Linked DNA regions of Homo sapiens: region 2 is linked to region 1. Evidence: promoter capture Hi-C in human tissues and cell types (Jung and others, 2019). All regions are on one chromosome and are shown on one strand. The core of a region is centred on a gene start or on the middle of the fragment in contact, and the rest is flanking DNA. Distances in the headings are between cores, read along the strand shown.

Region 1 (5,295 bases), core at 792-3,291:
TCCGGTAGACGGTTTTCTTCCTGTGGGGGAGAGCGGACAGTACAGAGGAGAGAGAAAAGATGAGCCCAGGGCTCTCCTGGCGCCCCCCTTGGGAGGCTGGGTGGTCCCAGACGGGCAAGTGGACCTGGGCACAGGCTCAGTCCCGGAGTCCCTAAGCTGTCAGGGTAGGGTCCCGCTTCCTCTCCCACCCTGCCCTTTCTTTCTCCCACCCTGCCCTCTCCTCAAGGAGCACTGTGGAATCAGGCCCTGACGCTTACAAGCTGAATGAGTGGTTTACAACCACTCTGAGCCACGATTTCTTCTTCCCCCAAATGGGGCTAAAACACAGGATTGGAGTGCTATATAAAGTACCAGGCAGCGGGTGCACAGTTAGGGGAATGCTGTCACCTTAACAGGAGGGCCTCAGGTGGAAACCTCTGCCCTGTTCCCCACGCCTGGAACCCCAATGCCTTTCATTTCCCTGCGGTGTACCTACCCACAGCAGTAGGTATCGGTATCATTAGGTGACTCAGAGCCAGAGTCATTGAGAGGGCACCCTCTGATCCTCTGTGCCGCCCGGGAGCTCCATCACATGTGGGGCACATTGGAGAGTGGCTCGAGCTTGGGACCTGAGGAAGACTGGCCCTCCTCCCCCTTCTCCAGTCTGTCTCACCCAACAAAGAGCAGCCCTCATGGTTGATGGAGGCCCAAGGATGCAGTGAGCACCTCTAGCATGGCACTGCCCCTCACCCCTACCTTAACATCCCCAGCTCATAACACCCCATTAGAAGACATGAGGCTACAGCTCTACTCCCTGGGAGGGGGCACATTTGCAGCTCCAGCCCTTGAGGGACCCTTCTTGCCCAGAGACCCCCCCACCCCAACCCCGGTCCACACCCATTTCGGAAGCAGAAATTAGAGCTCTCTGCCAGGAGTGCTGGTCGTCCCAAGCCCTGGGGCCTGAGCCCCTGTCCTGAAGGACCTCCTCTCTTCATCTCACCCTCCGGGGGCTGCCAGGACACCTGCCCCACCCTCCCCAGTGGAGACCTGGGGGCTGAGAGCTCTGGGGACAGCAGAGTGGCCTTCCAGGGCCAGCCTAGCAGAGAGATGGCGCTGACCTCCAAGGGGGAGGAGCAGGGTGCCAGGAGAGACAGGCAGCCCGTGGAGACGCCTGGGTTGCCCTGAGGGCTGGTCCGGTTGCAGGTCCAGGCCCCAGGGTGAATGCAGGCTGAGCCCCATAGAGCGACATTTTCCCCATAGGGTCCCCAGGTTGCTGGGGCATGTGGTTGGAGGAAGACAGGGGCACCTTAGGTGCAGGCTGGGGGGTGTGACCCAAGGTCCAGCTCTCCGGGGAGGAAACGGAGGGCTCCGGATCCGGCCCTGCCAGCCCTAGGGGTTCCAGGGAAGCCGCCCACCGAGGCCGGGACGGGGGAGGTCGGGGGGTGCACCGGGAAGGCGGCGAGGCCCTGGGCTGCGGGCGCTCCACCTGCCGGGTCCGCTCCATTCGTAGGGAAAGCCCGGGAGGGGCGGAGAGGGGCCGGGCGGGCGGCGGTCCGAGGTCCCGCGGAAGGAAGCCCCGAGAGGAGGAGAGTGGCCCGGACGCAGGGGGCCCTCAGGGGTCTGGAAGGGAGAGGGGACCCAGCTGCCGGCAAGACCTGGGGTCCCAGCCGCCAGGGTCCTGGAGCGGTGTCCAGGGCCGCGGGGCCGGGGAGCTGAGCGCGGCGCCCCGAGACCCCTCGACGTCCCCCACGGGTCCGGGGCCGCGTACCGCGAACATCTCCCGCCGCCGCCGCCGCGCCCGCCCGCCCATCCGCCCCCGGGAAACTGAGGCCGGCGCGGCGCGCGCGGGGGCATCTCCTATCCCGGGAGTCCCGGCGCCCGTCTGTGGCCACGGAGGAGGGGGAGCCCCGGGCCCACGCCCCCGCCCAGGCCCCCGACGGCCCCCAGCCCCACTCACCACAGCGACATGGCGGCCCGGGCCGGAGCGGCGGAGGGGCGAGCGGCTCGCAGCTCTGGGCGCCACGGCTCGGGCCGGCGGGACGGCGGGCGGGTGGGGACGGAGACCGGGCCGCGCCCCCGCCGCGACTTTCCTCTTCCCGGCCGCGGGAGGAGGGGCCGGCAGGGGCGGTGGCCCAGGTGCCTTAACCCCTTCGGCGCCCAGGGCCCGCCCCGCCGCCGCCTGGCGGGGACCACCCCATTTCTCCGAGACGGCCCCTAGGCTCCCCAAGCGCGCCTAGTAGACAGTGCATGGCCGAGGCGGGGCTTCGGAACCCACGGGGGTCACCTCCAATCCCGGGGACGCCTGTCCCTGGCGGAGCCTCCCGGGGCGGGGGGAGGGCGGTCGCCGGTCCCTCCTGTACTTGTGCGAAACCTGAACACCCGGTCCCCTCCAAGACCCTGGGGCACCCCAAGGCCCAGCCATTTCCCTCTGGCCCCATTCGGACTTGTCTTTGGGGCCAGAGGCAGACAGGGTGTCCTTTTCTCCCTCTGCTACCTTCTGCCCCTGCACCTTTCCCCTGACCAGACGGACCCCTTGCCCAGCTGTTGGGCTACCTAGGGCCAGGAGCAAAGCCAGCCACTAGGGAAAGAGGCCGTATGAGACTGGGCTCCATGTCAGGACTCGCCCAGGCCTGTGGCTCTGGAAGCTTTTTTTGTGCCCCCACCATGTCCCTCTCTTCACCTCTGGGGTTCCTCCCACCTCTGAGGGCTCCCCACCACCAAGGGAAGGCCTGTTGGCCCAGCCCTATCTCCTTTCTTTTTTCACTTATCACTCAAAACCCTTTTTGTCCTCAAGCCTTTATTAGTCTGCTTGTGCACATCAGGCCTAGCGGCTCTGGGGAGTGGGCTGACAGAGAACACGGAGAGGGCTTGGTCCAGCCAGGTGACTTCCAGAATCCTCCAGCAGGGAGAGCCATCGCTGGTCCTGTTGTTGCTCAGGTTGTTCTGGTCTTGTTCCGGGTTGAGGTTTCGGTGCTTAGCATCCAGCAGGACCTCCAAAAGGCCCACAGAATTGAAACGGAAGCACGTTGTGGTCCAATCATAACAGCTAACGTCCACTGAGCAGCTACAATATGCCAAACCTGGTTCTCGGCCCATGCATGACTGGCTCACTTAATCCTAGAGACATACGCTATTATTCCCACCTTACAGGGGAGGAAACGGGGGTGCAGAGGGGAACTCCCAGCCAGCTCAGAGAACAGCGAGCCCAGAGTTAGTAAGCACATCCAGGAGGCCTGCATGGCCTGAAGGCTGGCTCTGAACCCTTCCTGCCTGGTCTGAAGGCTGGCTCTGAGCCCTTCCTCAACCTTTTTTCCTTTCCCAGGGACAGCAGTGACATGGAGCTACTTTCCTGCCCAGCACACAGGGAGGCTAGGAGTCCTCAGCTGGATCTTAAGCCCTCGAGGCCAGGGTGAGGAGCCCCTTCTGCCCTATCCTTAAGGTTCAAGGGCCCTTTGGAGGGGGAGGAGAAACTTAAGGTACCATAGAATGTTCTGGAATGTTGTAAGTGCCAATTAGGGAATGTGAAGGGCCTTTCAGGCAGAATTTCAGAGGAGTATCTTGGGGCTGATGTCCTTTGTAATGGCCCTCCAAAAGTTCCAGAGCAGGGGAGGGGCTGACCTGCAGCCCAAAGCCCCTGTTGGCCTGGCTGCCTGCCACTGAGGGCCACCCGCAGATTCTGCAGCTCCACGGCTCCCTTCATCCCAGTGTAGCCTTGGCCACCGGTTCCCGCAGGGCACCAAGCATTTTGCTCCACTGCCCAGCCTTCCGAGTTCCCCACTTCACCCTGCAAGTGTGGCCCTGGCTTCCCTGGCTCCACACAGGTGCCCTGCTGAGAGCTGCCTCCCTGGCTTCAGCACTGACCTCTCACCCGGTGCTGTGGGGTCTCCTCCTCCTGCTGAGGGGTGGACACAGCCGTCCCTGGGAAGGGGGTTTTGAGCCCATGTTTGGGGATGGCAGGCATGGGCGTTGGGTCAGAGTCTTGCACTTCCTGGTTGTCACTGGGGGCAGGTGGCTTTTCCCCTTGAGACCTCAATTTCCTGCCAGCTCAGGGCCTTGTGAGATGACGCCAATGAAGCACAGACATAGGCATCCCCTATGTAAAGAACTTGGTGGCAGGCCGGCTACTGTTAGTGTTATCATTGATGTCCAGCTACTCCACAAAGCCCCAGAAGCACAAGGGCCAGAGGAGGTGGGAGCAGAGGGAGCTGCCCAAGGTCAGCGGAGTGTTTGCCAGTGGAATCTGGTCAGTTGAGACAGGCAGTTTGTCATCATGGAATCATTTGATCTGTGCCTAGTTTGAATTCAGAGAGGGGAAATGAATGACAATTAAATGCGAGTCCCTGATGGTGGGGTGGGGGTGGGGAGTGTGGAGCCGGGCCAGGCTCGGGTCAGCCTCCCCTGTTACTCCAATGTGCTCCCCTGTGGGGCAGCTGGGCCAGTCCCTATGGCAAGCACAGTGGTCCCCCCACCGCCAATCTGGCCAGTTCCACCTGCCCCAGCCAGAGGGCAGAGCCCCAGCAGATTCCTGTGGATTTAAGCGAGGCCCTGAGGAAGGCAGGCCTGTCTGCGATGGGATCTGCCTACCTGCTGTCCCCAACCCTGGCTGAAGGCAGAGCCCAGAGGTAGAGGGAAGTTCCAGAGTGGCAGATACCAGGAGAAGAGGGTGGGTGACGGATGAGCTGGCTGCATAGGCTGCAGGAGTCCCAAGCCAAGGTGGAGGTGGGTTCTGTGTCCTTGTCACAAGGCCACTCTGTGCACCTCAGGTTGCTCCCTTGGAGGGGGAAGCTCGTGAGCCAGGACGTTGGAGGACCCCAAGAAATGCCCCCTTCCCCAGTACATCTTTTGGCCCCTCAGCCCATCCCTACCTCCACCTCCACTTTCTTTTATATCCCACCCCTTCAACCTTCCAGAATAGGTTGGAATCCGACCCTGCTGGTAACCCCAGCACAGGCCTTTGCCCAGAGGCGAGGGCTGCAGAGACCCAAGGGTGGGAGTATCTGACTGGCCAGAAAACACACTGGGTCAGTGGCTTGACTGGACAAGGTGGGGGCCAACTTGGGTCAGAGGGACCCCCAAAGCAGAAGGTGAGGAGTCTTGCGTGCCTTGCAGAGAGGTGGCCATCGTGGGGCGAGAGCGCGGAGCCCAGCAGGGGCCACGGGCAGGCAGCTATGCTGGCTGTAATCGCCTCAGTGCTGCTGTGATTTTGTGAGCGTGTGAGTTAAACTTAGTTGGTGTTTTTGAAAGACCCTGAGCAGCAGTCTACACTCCAGGGGCAGCCACAGCCAGCACTTCAAATGTGGTTGTCTACTGTCACAG
Region 2 (4,909 bases), core at 2,344-4,843, 300 kb after region 1:
ATAGGGAAATGACACAGCAGCAGGGGCCACGTGCATCAGGGATAAGAACGCTTTCCCCTCCCTTGTCCAAGTGTGCGCTCACCACTGCTCCATCTGTAAGGGCGCACCCTTCTATAGAAGTAACTTGCCTTGCTGAGAATTAAAAAGAAAATTTTATATTCAAGTGCTATTTCTTTTGTGGCACCGAAACTTTATATGTAACAGTTGTTTCCCATAACCCGTGGTTCCCCGAAGAAGGTACATTAGACATAGAGCTCTGGAAACCAGTTGGGAGAAATCTTAAACAACATCATGCAGAAGGGCAATGGGTCCCAGTAACATCTCTAATGTTATGGGCCTTAGTCAGGGCTGCTTTGGTCCTGCTATACACAGAAGTGCCTAAAAAGGGTAGGGAAGAGGAACCATCACCTACCTTACCGACTCCATCTCCCTCAGCCCCGCCATTAACAGAAAAAAATAACAAAAAGGAAATGGAGGTTTTGCCTGAGTCCCCTCCTCCAATAAATTGGAAAAAAGACAAGGGATATCCTACAGCTATGGGATTCTGTCTTAGGCAAGCAGCATTAGAAGGGGAGCTCTTAGCCTGCCTGGTAATGCAAGATCAACAAGGCAATCAGGTACATGAACCCATTTATTTTAAAGCTTATAAAGAGATAAGAAAAAGCATTAGAAAGAACGGAGCCGCTAGCCCATTTACAAGAGGTTTGAGGTCACTCTGCAGACCTCTTTCTAATAATGGCCACTGTTATTATTCCTCCCCTACCCTTAACATGGCTCTCTCAAGATCCAACTTGGGTAGAACAGTGGCCTTTAAAGGGAAAGAAATTACAAAGAGCCCATGAATTAGTTGAGGAGCAATTAAAAGCTGGCCATATAGAATTGTCAAACAGCCCTCGGAATTCACCCATTTTCGTCATTCCCAAAAGGTCTGGCAAATGGAGACTTCTGCATGACTTACAGGCTATTAATGCTAATTTGCAACCCATGGGGCCTCAACAGGGCCTCCCTTCCCCCGCAGCGATTCCTCAAGATTGGCCTTTAGCCGTTATTGACTTAAAAGACCGCTTTTATACTATTCCCCTTGCAGAACAGGACAGAGAAAAATTTGCATTTACCATACCAGCTATCAATAATGAAAGGTCAGCTAGCTGATTTCATTGGAAAGTGTTTCCTCAAGGGATGCTAAATAGTCCTACCATGTGTCAGTATCATGTCAATCAAGCTTTGCTCCCCAGTAGAAAAGAAGTTCCTACTTGCAAGATTATTCATTTTATGGATGATATTTACTAGCAGCCCCAACAAAGGCATTTAAGTTTATATGCCTCTGTCATAAAGAATACACAGCTAAGAGGTTTAAACATAGCACCTAAAAATGTGCAAATGTCCTCTCCTTGGAAATATCTTGGATACATGCTAATTTCCTGGTCAATAAGACTTCAAAAGGTTAAATTAAATACTAGCAACTTATACACCTTAAATGATTATCAAAAATTATTGGGCAATATTAATTGGCTTCGTCCCACCTTGGGCATGACTACTGATAAGCTGCAAAACCTGTTTTCCATCCTAAAGGGCAATACAGCCCCAGACTCTCCCAGGTATTTAACTCCTGCAGCAAAAAGGGGAATTGAGGAAATAGAGCAAGCTATTTCTCAGAGGCAACTAAATCGCATAGACCCAAATTATTCAGTTCAATTGTTTGTTTTTCCTACTAAACACTCCCGACAGGGTTAATAGGACAAATGGCCCCAGGGCTACGCTTCCTGGAATGGATTTTTTGCTCACATACCTGGACTAAAACACTATCTCCCTATATCCAGCTAGTTAATAAAGTCAACTATACAAGCTGCAGACAATGCAATCAGTCACTAGGTTATGACCCTGATGTCATAGAATTCCTTCAAGTAAAAAGCAATTCAAAGCAGTATTGCCCTTATCTCTAGACCTGCAAATAGCACTTTCTGATTATACAGGCCATATAGAGCATGCCCTTCCTGCTGACAAACTTAATTCAGTTCTTATCTCATACTTCTGTAGTTGTGCCTATAAAAGTAGTTCACTCCCCCATACCCAACGCTTTAATGCTTTTTACTGACGGTTCTGGTAAAAATGGAAAAGTGGCAATTTGGTAGAAACCACATAATTCCCTTACTCATTCTGGATTTACTAGCACTCAGACAGCTAAGGCTGGAGCCTTAATACTGGCACTGGAAACTTTTTCTGCTCAGCCCATCAATATTGTTAGTGACCCTGCTTACTCTGTTTATTTATTGCAGAACCTTGAAACAGCCCTCAAGTCCATTCTCGAGCCCACCCTGTGTGCACTTTTTCTTTGACTTCAGCAATTGCTGGATCAACGTACACATCCTATTTCTAATCACACATATTGGAGCCCACAGCTCACTGCCTGGCCCATTGGCTTATGGCAATGAACAAGCAGATATGCAAGTTATGACGTCACTGCTTGACCAAGCCACCCAATTGCATCAATTTTTCCACCAAAATTGGAGTAATTTAACTAAACAATTTAAACTCACCCAAAGGCTAGCTAAAGAAATTATCCTGCAATGCCCAGATTGCCAGCTCACAGGCACCTCCCCTCCTTCAACACGTGTTAACCCTAGAGGACGGCACCGCCCCTCCAACAGGTGTTAACCCTAGAGGACTAGAACCTAATCAGTTATGGCAAACAGATGTTACTCACATCCTAAATTTAGAAAACAAAGATATGTACATGTATCCATTGATGCCAATTCTCAGTTAATTAGTGCACATACTTTTCCTGGAGAGTCCACCCAATATATTATTAAACATCTACTCTTAACTTTTGCATTTATAGGGCGGCCCACAAAAATTAAAACTGATAATGGTCTGGCTTATGCCAGCTCACAATTTCAACAATTTTGTCACACGTGGAACATCCAACATTCCACAGGCATCTCGTATAACCCCCAAGGACAGTAGAACATACCCATTCCACTCTTAAAAATATGCTCAAAAAAACAAAAAAGGGGGAATATGGGTAAGAACCTGGCAACACTACTGGCACAAGCCTTATTTACCCTTAATTTTTAAAATTTAGATGATAAATTTCAGCCATAGAAAAGCACTTTGCTAAAACCTCTCAAGACATAAAACCTGCAGTTTAATGGAAAAATGTAAATAGTAATGTATGGTGTGGTCCAAATGATTTGCTTACATGGGAAAGAGGATATGCTTGTGTTCACACCCCCTCAGGTCCTCTCTGGATTCTAGCACGATACATCAAATCATACCATGGTGTGGCTAGGACCCAACCTGGTACCAGAAATGAAGGAAATGTCCCTGCAGGACCAGCAGCCCCGGACGACGCGGCTTCCTAGGATGACACAAGCCCCGGACTTTACCTGGGGGATGCTGAAGAAGACAACTCAGGAGGCTGAGCGAATCCTGCTCCAGACACAGACACCATTCACTCCACATAATTTGTTCCTTGCTATGCCTTCTGTTGTACACTGCAACTCTCATAGGGTATTAACCCTTCTTAATCTCTCACTCTGCCTGCAACCTGCACCTGCTACTCTCTATTGGGCTCATCTCTTAGATCTGCTTTTCTTTTGCCCTGTTACTTGAGCAGACACCCGCTTCCCAACCTCTAATAACATAATTGCTTGGCTTAGATCTGCTTTTCTTTTGCCCTGTTACTTGGGCAGACACCCCCTTCCCAACCTCTAATAACATAACTGCTTGGCTAGGAGGGATTGACTTACCCCCAGTGGGGTCCCTCATTAATGGCACACATTGGATTAAGATGCCAGGTAACACTATATATCACTCCACTATCCTCCCACTGTGCATTAGTTATAAAAGTTCCAATCCTTACTGTGTACCTGCCCAAACTCAAGTATGGCTATATCATGGCAAAGGAAATGCCTTAACATTCTTGGTTGCAGATAGCCTCAAACCGGGCAATGCAACCAACGCCACTTTCCCCAACATTCCTTCCTGTGCTAAAGAACATAGCCAGGAAAGTAATGGATTCCACTTTGGCTGGGAGGTCTGTCATGGAGGACAAGCCCGTAGACTCCATTTAGGCTATTATAACATCTTAGACTAGAGCCCCCACTGACACTTGCAGAGCAACCATACTGATGTCCTCATCCATCGTGGCATCAATCACAGTTTTGCAGCCACGTCTCATTCCCGTACAATTTGGGCCGATGGAGGGACGGGATATCCCAGATCCCAAGGAGAGTCCATGCCACCCCAAGACACTTTATGGTGCCTGGGACATCTTAGCATCTCCCTTTACACCTGGTATGGGACATACCATAATTCCAGTAACAACTATACTGTGACCTTTATTCATAATCACACAGATCAGTGCCTGATTTGCACTACCCATCCATATGTTTTCCTTATGGGAACCAATATTTCCATTACACCCCAAAACTCCACGTTTGTGACCCGAGTGCAGGGACAGGTTTGGTTTGCCTCATGCGTCACTAATTATATCTAATTTAAATATTACTAGTATCATGGTATTAAGGAGACAATCTGAAGCATTCCCACCAATTTGACACGTGATTGGCAAGGTTCCTCTGCTCTTGCCACCTGAGAACATGCCCCGTCCCAGGTCAGACCCAAAAGATTCATAGGCACACTTATAAAACCTTTATAGTCTCAGCCATAGTCATCTTAGCAACTGCTAGTATTGCTGTGGCCTCTATTACTGAATCTGTAAAAACAGCTACCTTTGTAGGTAACTTGGCCAAAAATGTGTCTAATGAACTTCTCTTAGAGCAGGGTACAGATCAAAAGATTCTTGCACGCCTGCAAGCCCCTGAGGCTGCCTTAGAATATACAGGGGAGCAGCAAGATGCGCTGGCATTCCGACAGCACTTAAACTGTGACTGGGAGCATAAGTGTA

Evidence for each region. The method cuts DNA at HindIII sites, captures the fragments that hold promoters and counts their contacts. A contact is called where the count stands out against the background at its distance.
Region 2: a fragment that was not itself captured here is called in contact with the fragment with the promoter of B3GNT7 in region 1 in 2 of the 25 tissues and cell types used here (H1 embryonic stem cells and lymphoblastoid cells).

What each region holds. Positions count from the first base shown.
Region 1 is chr2:231,392,456-231,397,750 of GRCh38, reverse strand. It overlaps B3GNT7 (UDP-GlcNAc:betaGal beta-1,3-N-acetylglucosaminyltransferase 7), which reads right to left and starts at 2,041. Exons shown (of 2, transcript NM_145236.3): 1 at 1,937-2,041; 2 at 1-20. The coding sequence starts at 1,947. RefSeq lists enhancers at 430-499, 1-641, 2,910-2,959, 3,255-3,836, 3,837-4,419 and 1 more and a silencer at 1,890-2,359. The HindIII fragment of the contact is 23,756 bases long and covers 1-5,295 here.
Region 2 is chr2:231,091,868-231,096,776 of GRCh38, reverse strand. All of the region lies in intron 16 of PSMD1 (proteasome 26S subunit, non-ATPase 1), which reads right to left. Among named protein-coding and RNA genes, the nearest start is that of HTR2B, 31 kb to the left of the region's middle. The HindIII fragment of the contact is 5,322 bases long and covers 933-4,909 here.